2 separate regions of the Homo sapiens genome follow, and region 2 is linked to region 1. Evidence: promoter capture Hi-C in human tissues and cell types (Jung and others, 2019). All regions are on one chromosome and are shown on one strand. The core of a region is centred on a gene start or on the middle of the fragment in contact, and the rest is flanking DNA. Distances in the headings are between cores, read along the strand shown. Region 1 holds the start of ARSF (arylsulfatase F). Region 2 has its middle 40 kb from the start of SNORA48B.

The links. Contacts are between HindIII fragments. The study calls those that stand out against the background at their distance.
Region 2: a contact is called between a fragment that was not itself captured here and the fragment with the promoter of ARSF in region 1, in 2 of the 25 tissues and cell types used here (mesendoderm cells and thymus).

What each region holds. Positions count from the first base shown.
Region 1 is chrX:3,039,240-3,043,582 of GRCh38, forward strand. It overlaps ARSF (arylsulfatase F), which reads left to right and starts at 2,232. Exons shown (of 11, transcript NM_001201539.2): 1 at 2,232-2,424. The HindIII fragment of the contact is 6,572 bases long and covers 712-4,343 here.
Region 2 is chrX:3,490,246-3,494,588 of GRCh38, forward strand. No RefSeq gene overlaps it. Among named protein-coding and RNA genes, the nearest start is that of SNORA48B, 40 kb to the right of the region's middle. The HindIII fragment of the contact is 6,620 bases long and covers 1-4,343 here.

The DNA.
Region 1 (4,343 bases), core at 982-3,481:
TATTTTATAGATTGTTCTTCAGTTTTTTTTTTTTTTTTTGAGACAGAGTCTTCCTTTATCCCTCAGGCCGGAGTGCAGTGGTGCGATCTTGGCTCACTGCAACCTCTGCCTCCCAGGTTCAAGCAATTCTCATGCCTCAGCCTCCACAATTGCTGGGAGTAGAGGCACCTGCCACCACGCCCGGCTAGTTTTTGTATTTTTAGTAGAGACGGGGTTTCACCTTGTTGGCCAGGCTGGTCTCGAACTCCTGATGTCAGGTGATCCGCCCGCCTCAGCCTCCCAAAGTGCTGGAATTACAGGCTTGAGCCACTGTGCCCAGCCTTCAGTTTGGTTTTGTCCAGTGTTTTCTCATGATTAGACTGAGGTTATGCATTTTTGGCAAAAAAATCATCAGAATTGATGTAAGTTTTCAGTGTGTCATGTTACGGAGTGCATGATGTCTGTATGTCCTGTCCTGGTGATGTTAAATTTCATCACCTGGATTAAGTGGTGTCTGTTGGAATTCTCCACTGTGAAATTATTATTTTTTCTGATCCAGGAAAGGTTAAGCAAGAGTCTGGCACCATTTTAAGTCTAATAAGAAACATTTACTACCTGATTTCTCTGAAGCCTGCTACCTGCGGGCTACATGTGCATAATAAAAACTTTGGTCTCCTCAACGCCTTATCCTCACCCAGACATTTCCTTTCTACTAATTACAGGTCTTTAATCAGAAAATCCTGGAATCCACCTACGACCTGGAAGTTCCTCACTTTGAATGGAATCCCACCTTTCTGGACTAAGCCAATGTACATCTCACATGTGTCGATTGATGTCTCCTGTCCCCGTAAATTGTATAAAGCCAAGCTGTCACCCAACCACCTTGGGCACTTGTTCTCAGGACCTCCTTGGGGCTGTGTCGTGAGCCATTGGTTAAATGAATAACTCTTTTCAAATATTTTACAGAGTTTGACTCTTTTCATGGACATTAATTGGTGCCCTACACGTGGGGCCTCAGAAAAGACTCAGAATCCTTGACGCAGTTGCCCGAACCCGGAGCTAAGTTACCCGCAGGGCCATTGGAAGCCCTCCCTGGCTTTAGGTTTCTCCTCCAGTGGAACCGGTGAGTCCTCTGCAGCTCTGGACCTTCCATTTGGTTGATGGTCCTTGGTTCATTCTGAGCTGTTTTTCTACCTCCTTTTTATTTTTCTCCTAGGAAGTTGTTGTATAGGATCCTACTTTAGGTTTGGTGGTGCATTCTAAATGGTCTTCTCCACTGCCCTTTTCCCCCCAAATTAATGTCGATTGGCCTGTGAGTACATTTGCGTGAGAGACTGAACTGCCACTTTTGTGGCATAATTTTGAATTGCCAAACGAGAGGCTGACCTCCTCAGCTTGGAAAAGAAAGGGAGTTTTGCTCCTCCTAGCCAAAAACCACCCCTGGGTGGTAGGGGTTGAGTGGGAGTCTCTGGGGGATTGACTCCTGCCATGATGTGCAGTGACCCTACAGGGAACCACACAACAAAATTAATTTTAAGAGGCTCATCCAGGAGACAGGTGTAAGAGCTGATCACTTGCTATGTTGAGCCCTGTCAGAGGTCTAGACCTCTGGAGAGAGAAACTCAGACACGTGAAAGGGTAGAAAGACTCAGTGGTGACACACAGTGTAGTCCCTCTCACAGCCAGCACACTTCAATCCACCCTACTAAAACCCAGGCCACAGTTTAGTTCCTCATTTTAAAATAAAAGTGGGAGACATAGCATGTAAGGATGAGGAAAGGCGGAGAGAGCGACCCCCATTTGGGCACCCCTTTTGGTTCTCTGGTTCCTCTACTTGCAAGTATTTGTGTAAGCGGGAAAAGCTTGAGGGCATGCCAGGTCAAACAAGAAGCTTCCTGTTACATATTATGTCTGTGCTTGTTCACACTTTAAACTGCTGCACACATTACACCAGAGAAAATTCCAGCCCAAAGGTCAACCTGCAACCAATCAGTTCCTAAGTCCTCTATTTTGCTATTTTCTTTTCTGCCTACTTTAAATCTTCTGTTTACTTTTTGTTCTTTTCTTTTCTTTTCTTTTTCTTTTTTTTTTTTTTTGAGACAGAGTCTTGCTCTGTCACCCAGGCTGGAGTGCAATGGCGCTATCTACTGCAGCCTCTGCCTTCCAGGTTCAAGCGATTCTCCTGCCTCAGCCTCCCCAGTAGCTGGGATTACAGACGTGCGCCACCACGTCTACGTAATTTTTGTATTTTTAGTGGAGACAGGCTCTCACCATGTTGACCAGGCTGGTCTCGAACTCCCGACCTCAAGTGATCCGCCGGCCTCGGCCTCCCAAAGTGCTGGGATTACAGGCGTGAACCACCACTCCTGGCCCTTCTGTTACTTTTCCACTGCTGTTGAGATAGAAGTCACTGTTGGGATCCAACCTTTTTGTTTGTATAAACTGGTGAGTTTGTGTTGATATCTCTTGCTAGAGTTCTGAAGTAAAAGCTATAGGATCTTTGTGTGAGTGTGCATGCGTATTTAGATGTGTTTATGTACATGCACATATGTGTGCACATATACATTTTTTACGTGCTTTAGCCCTGAAGTGTCAAATTGGCTTCAAGTCAAAGAGTACTCATAAATTAAATAATAAGCCAAAACGCTTTTCAAGTTCACGTGACTTACATAAATCTTTAATAAATAAGCTGGCTTTAAAATTATTGGTACGATAGTATTAGAAATATCTTAAAAATTGTCAGCATACATGTTTGTTTGCATTTACTGATCAAGCAGTTTCATATTTACCTCTGACAGATATTATAAGGTGTCAAAATTTGGCATAAGGCTTACAAAACTATAAACCCAGCAACCCAGCATGAAACACAATAATCTTTGTTTCTGTACTTTTTGAGAAATAAGACGTTTAATGTTATTAGTGTAGTAAAAAGAGCTAAATCCCAAGTTATCAGTAAAATATATATATATTTAAAATTTTTGCTTAGGCAAACACAGAAAATTCATAGACTATAAAAATGGTTAACAGGGAAATAACTTTAAATGATGACTATCAGAGTTTTCACAGATAATCTAGGTAAAAGATTTTATAAAATTAATTAGGTAAATGTAATGAAACAAATGCCTGTAAATAAATATAATTTAGAATCTAAAGTTAAATAATAGATATTCACTAAATGTCTGGGCCATTTTCAATTTAAATAAATTGTATTATAGAAAAACTTTTCTAAAAAATATGTTCTTATTCAAAGCTAAGTTATTTTCATCTAATTCCATGTTTATTTATTTATATTTTTTGAGATGGAGCCTCGCTCTGTCTCCCAGGCTGGAGTGCAATGGTGCAGTCTCAGCTCACTGCAACCTCTGCCTCCCAGGTTCAAGCGATTCTCCTGCCTCAGCCTCCCTTGTAGCTGGGATTACAGGTGCCCACCACCATGCCTGGCTAATTTTTGTAATTTTAGTAGAGATAGGGGTCTTGCCATGTTGGCCAGGCTGGTCTCGAACTCCTAACCTCAGGTGATCCACCCACCTAAGCCTCCCAAAGTGCTGGGATAACAGGTGCAAGCCACCGCACCCGGCCAGATTCTAGGTTTATTTAAGGGTTATTTATGAAATATGGTAAAAGGAACCAAGAAACAAGAGATGTAAAGAAAGTTAGGCTGCGTGCATTGGGTCACACCTGTAATCCCAGCACTTTGGGAGGCTGAGGCAGGCGGATCATGAGGTCAGGAGTTTGAGACCAGCCTGACCAACACAGTGAAACCCCACCTCTACTAAAAATATAAAAATTAGTCAGGCATGGTGGCATGTGCCTGTAATCCCAGCTACTCAGGAGGCTGAGGTAGGAGAATTGCTTGCACCCGGGAGGCAGAGGTTGCAGTGAGCCAAGATCGTGCCACTGCACTCCAGGCTGGGTGACAGAGCGAGACTACTCCATCTCAAAAAAAAAGAAGAAGAAAGTTACAAGGAGGTATTTTTGGTAAGAAATGTTAAAAGAAAAATAATTTTGTATGAGAAAGAATCTTGTTGTTTAAGAGAGATGTTTAGGACAGAACAGAAAATCCAAGCAGGTTGTATATGGTCTGTGCAAGTCATAATACAGTCTGTAAAAAAGGAATTCAAAAAAATTTTTATGTAATTAAGTTTGCTATAACTAAAAGGAAATTATAATCATTCTAGGTATTGGACTTCAATAATAAAAATACAGTAATGCAAAAGGAGATCATTGGTTAGAACAAGATTTTCTTAAAATACTGATGTACTCAGTGAAATTGCAAGAAGTTTTTTATTTTTGAATTCCATAATCTCTTCTTGAAATTCTTCAGATGGACATCCTAGGGGTTCCACTTCTGCTGCATCCTGCTT
Region 2 (4,343 bases), core at 845-3,344, 450 kb after region 1:
AAAAAGTTGGGTGCATTTTTTCTTTTGCTAGGGCTGCTATCACCAAATTCTGTATGACGAGTGGTTTAAAACAACATAAATTTATTGCCTTACGGCTCTGAAGAGCAGAAGTCTGAAATCAAGGTGTCGGCACAGTTGGTTCTTTCTGGAGGCTCTGAAAAAATCTGCCGCTGTGTTCGCTTTTGGTGAATTTCATTAATCCCTTGGTGTTCTTTGCTTGTAGACCTGGCATCCAATCTCTCTCTCTATGGTCACTTTGGTAATATTTATTCCCATCCAATAAAACAGGGGTCCCCAACCCCCAGGCCATGGACCAGTACCAGTCCACCGCCTGTTACAAAGCGAGCCACACGACAGGAAGTGATCAGCAGGTGGGCGAGCAAGCAAAGCTTCATCTGTACTGACAGCCATTCCCCATCGCTCACATAACCACATGAGTTCCGCCTCCTGTCAGATCAGTAGTGGCATTAGATTCTCATAGGAGCATGAACCCTACTGTGAACTACCCATGCAAGGGATCTAGGTTGATGCTCCTTAAGATAATCTAATGCCTGATGATCTGTCATTGTCTCCCATCACCCCCAGATGGGACCTTCCAGTTGCAGGAAAACAAGCTCAGGGCTCCCACTGATTCTACATTATGGTAAGTTGTAGAATTATTTCATTATGTATTCCAATGTAACAGTAATAGAAATAAAGTGCACAATCAATGTAATGTGCTTGAATCATCCCGATGCCATTGTCCTGCCCCAGATCCCTGTAAAAATTGTCTGACATGAAACCTGTCCTTGGTGCCAAAAAGGTTGGGGACCACTGCAATACAGAGTGGAAGGTGAAGTAGAGTGTACAGAAATAATCCAACAGGAAGGAGCTGGTTGTTAGCTGGTGCATGTAGCCTTCTTGGACCACTCTCTACTCTTTACCGTCTCTATCTTGTCAGCACCAATACTCATCAATATTTCATATGGCAAATATGAGTTTAGAATGGGCATACCATAATCAACCTAAACAAGTGATTCGTCTATTACGACAGACACTACCTACTAATACTAATGTCTCAATACTTATTATTATTCATGCATTCATGAGCTATGACTATTGTAAACATGGAGGCAAGTTCTTTACAACTGAATGACCTACCCAAAAGTCAGGATGAGGGAAGACTCCAGCTCATTAACTATCAATCTAGTATTCAAGAAAAAGACCAAATGGTGCTTGTCAAATTGAGTTTAAAAGTCTACTCCTGGCTGGACGCGGGTGGCTTACGCCTGTAATCCCAGCACTTTGGAAGGCCGAGGCTGGCAGATCACAAGGTCAGGAGATCGAGACCATGCTGGCTAACACAGTGAAACCCCGTCTCTACTAAAAATACAAAAAAATTAGCCGGGCGAGATGGCGGGCACCTATAGTCCCAGCTACTCAGGAGGCTGAGGCAGGAGAATGGTGTGAACCCGGGAGGCAGAGCTTGCAGGGAGCCGAGATTGCACCACTGCACTCCAGCCTGGGTGATAGAACGAGACTCCATCTCAAGAAAAAAAAAAAAAAGCCTACTCCTATTATAAATTTTCTCTGCCCAGCTTTAAATGCAAAGTTCCATAGCTGAAATTAATTGTTGGTTTCTCGACAGAAAACAGGAGCAAGCTGTGTTGAGTCACTTCATGGTATGTCTTACCATGGGATTGTTGACCAGGATAACATTTTATTAGACCTAATTAGGGATTCATTAGTGGGAAATACGCGTATTTGGATTTCGCAGATGATGAGACATGCCCTGTTTGTTTGCCTCATCGAATTTTGACAGATAAGATGCCTGGGTGACCCCGTCAAAGGGAAATTCTACTGTGGTTTGAAATATTAGAGCCATAGCAAAGCTTGCTTCTCAAAAACATACCAGCCCAAAGGCATATGTTTTGCATAATATTTATTGCAATATTTGGGCATGTTGATATACAGCATAAAGATTCTTTGCCACTTGTGCCTTTTGGGTTAATAGATTGTTATGTCTTTGATCTTCTGCCAAGTTAAAGGTTATTTGGTAGTTTCTATGAATTCAGAGACAATTTTACAAACCATCGCCTTTCCAGTGTGAAAAGAATGCCTGGGTGAAGTGACAGTAGCAATTGCATCTTCATGAAACGGAGCGAGAATGCATCGTCTCCCACGTTGGGTGAATGGGACCTGATTGGTGAGGCTGACAGTTTCATTGGTGGTGGAGAGGAAAAACTTATTTAAAACAAATAAATGCATTTTGCCAAGGGCTGTCACCTTTGCCAAGGAAGCTGAGTTTGAATCCACCCTGCAGAAGGTGCAAAGAATCTTTAAGCAATATGTAAACATGACCAAATATTGTGACAAATAAATAAACAGGGAACACAAGTTTTCAAGAGAGGGACGTGACGGAGGAAGCAGTCTCAGTTACCCCTTCTAGCAGCAAGGCTACCAGGAGGAAGGTGCTCCAAATGCCATGGGCAGAGCAGGATGACCAGAGGGGCATCCTGTTCTGAGCAATGAGGGGCCCAGAAAACACAGAAACACCTTAGAGAGTGGCTGCATTAGTCTTTTATCAATGTTTAAGCATGGATTTTTTACATGGAATCACAGTTATCCATTCCATATTGCTGACTAAATGGCTACATTATTTATTTTTTTCTGATCCTTCATTCTTTCATTTGTATTTGGAAACAGCAAACACTGTTTTCAGATGACCACAGAATATTACTACAGTGAATGTTTTCCAGCAAAAGGTATAATATTTTTTATTCTGTGCTAGTTCAGTGCTTAATGCATAGTAAGAGTCATGCATACATACATACATACACACACAAACAAGTACATACATAGGCATTGTCATGGCTAATTATATGTGTCAACCTGGCTGCGCCATGGGGTTCCCACATATTTGGTCAAATGTTACTCTAGATGTGTTTATGAATATTATTCTGGTTGAGATTAATGAATCAATCAGTAGACTTAGTAGAGTGGATTGTCTTCTGTTATGTGGGTAACAGAGCAATTGGTTCAACGGTGGTGTCATTAGGGAACAGGGAGGAAAGACAAGAAAACAGAAAAGTTGTTGGCCACTGTGGAAAACAGTGTGGAGATTCCTTAAATAACTAAAAGTAGAACTACCATTCGATCCAGCAACCCCACTCCTGGGTATCTATCCAGAAGAAAAGAAGTCATTATATGAAAAAGGATTGTCCTCTGTTATGAGGGTGGACATAGAACAAAGAAAAAAATGGAGTAACAAAGAATTTGCTCTCTCTGCCTGTCTTCAAGCTGGGACAATAGTTTTACTCCTGACTCCACATTAGACTCAGGCTGCAACTCTTACCATTGGCTCTCCTGGGTCTCAGACCTTCAGAGTCAGACTGGAGCTCTCACCATCAGCTCTTCTGGGTCTTGGGCCTTCAGACTCAGACTGGAACTCACACCCTCAGCTCTCCTGGGACTCAGACCTTCAAACTCAGACTGGAACTCTCACCATCAGTTCTCCTGGGTCTCAGGCCTCCATACTCAGACTGGAACTCATGTCATCAGCTCTTCTCAGTCTCAGGCCTTCACACAGGAACTCACACCCTCAGCTCTCCTGGGTCTCAGACCTTCAGACTCAGACTGGAACTCTCATCATCAGCTCTCCTGGGTCTCAGGCCTCCATGCTCAGACTGGAACTCACATCATCAACTCTTCTCAGTCTCAGGCCTTCACACAGGAACTCACACCATCAGCTCTCCTGGGTCTCAGGTCATCACACTGGAACTCAAACCATCAGCTTTCCTGGATCTCAGGCTGTCACACTGGAACTCACACCATTGGCTCTCCTGGGTCTCAGGACTTCAGACTCAGAATGGAACTCACATCCTTGGCTTTCTCAGGTCTTAGACCTTCAGACTCAGACTGAAAGTCACACCCTTGGCTCTTCTGGGTCTCAGACCTTCAGACTGGAACTCATACCATCCGCCTTCCTGGGTCTCCAGGCTTAATAACTAAATCTACAGGCAGCATTATGGGTGAATCTTAGAAATTCAAAATTGGCAGAAAAAAATATATAGGAGAGGATGTGCTATGTTAGCAATAACTATGATTCAAAAGTGAGCAAAAGTGAACCATAAAATTTAATGCACCCAGATAAATTTAATTTTTAATTTACAAACAATCAATGTATGTATGTATGTATGGAGTACAGTGTGATATTTTGAAATATGCATACCTTGTGGAAGGATTAAATTGAGCTAATTGCCATATTCATTGCTTCACCTACTTATTCGTTTTGTGTGTGTGGTGAGAACATTTAAAAATCCACTCTCTCAGCCACTTTGATTTTTAGTTGCTTTTTTTGAGAC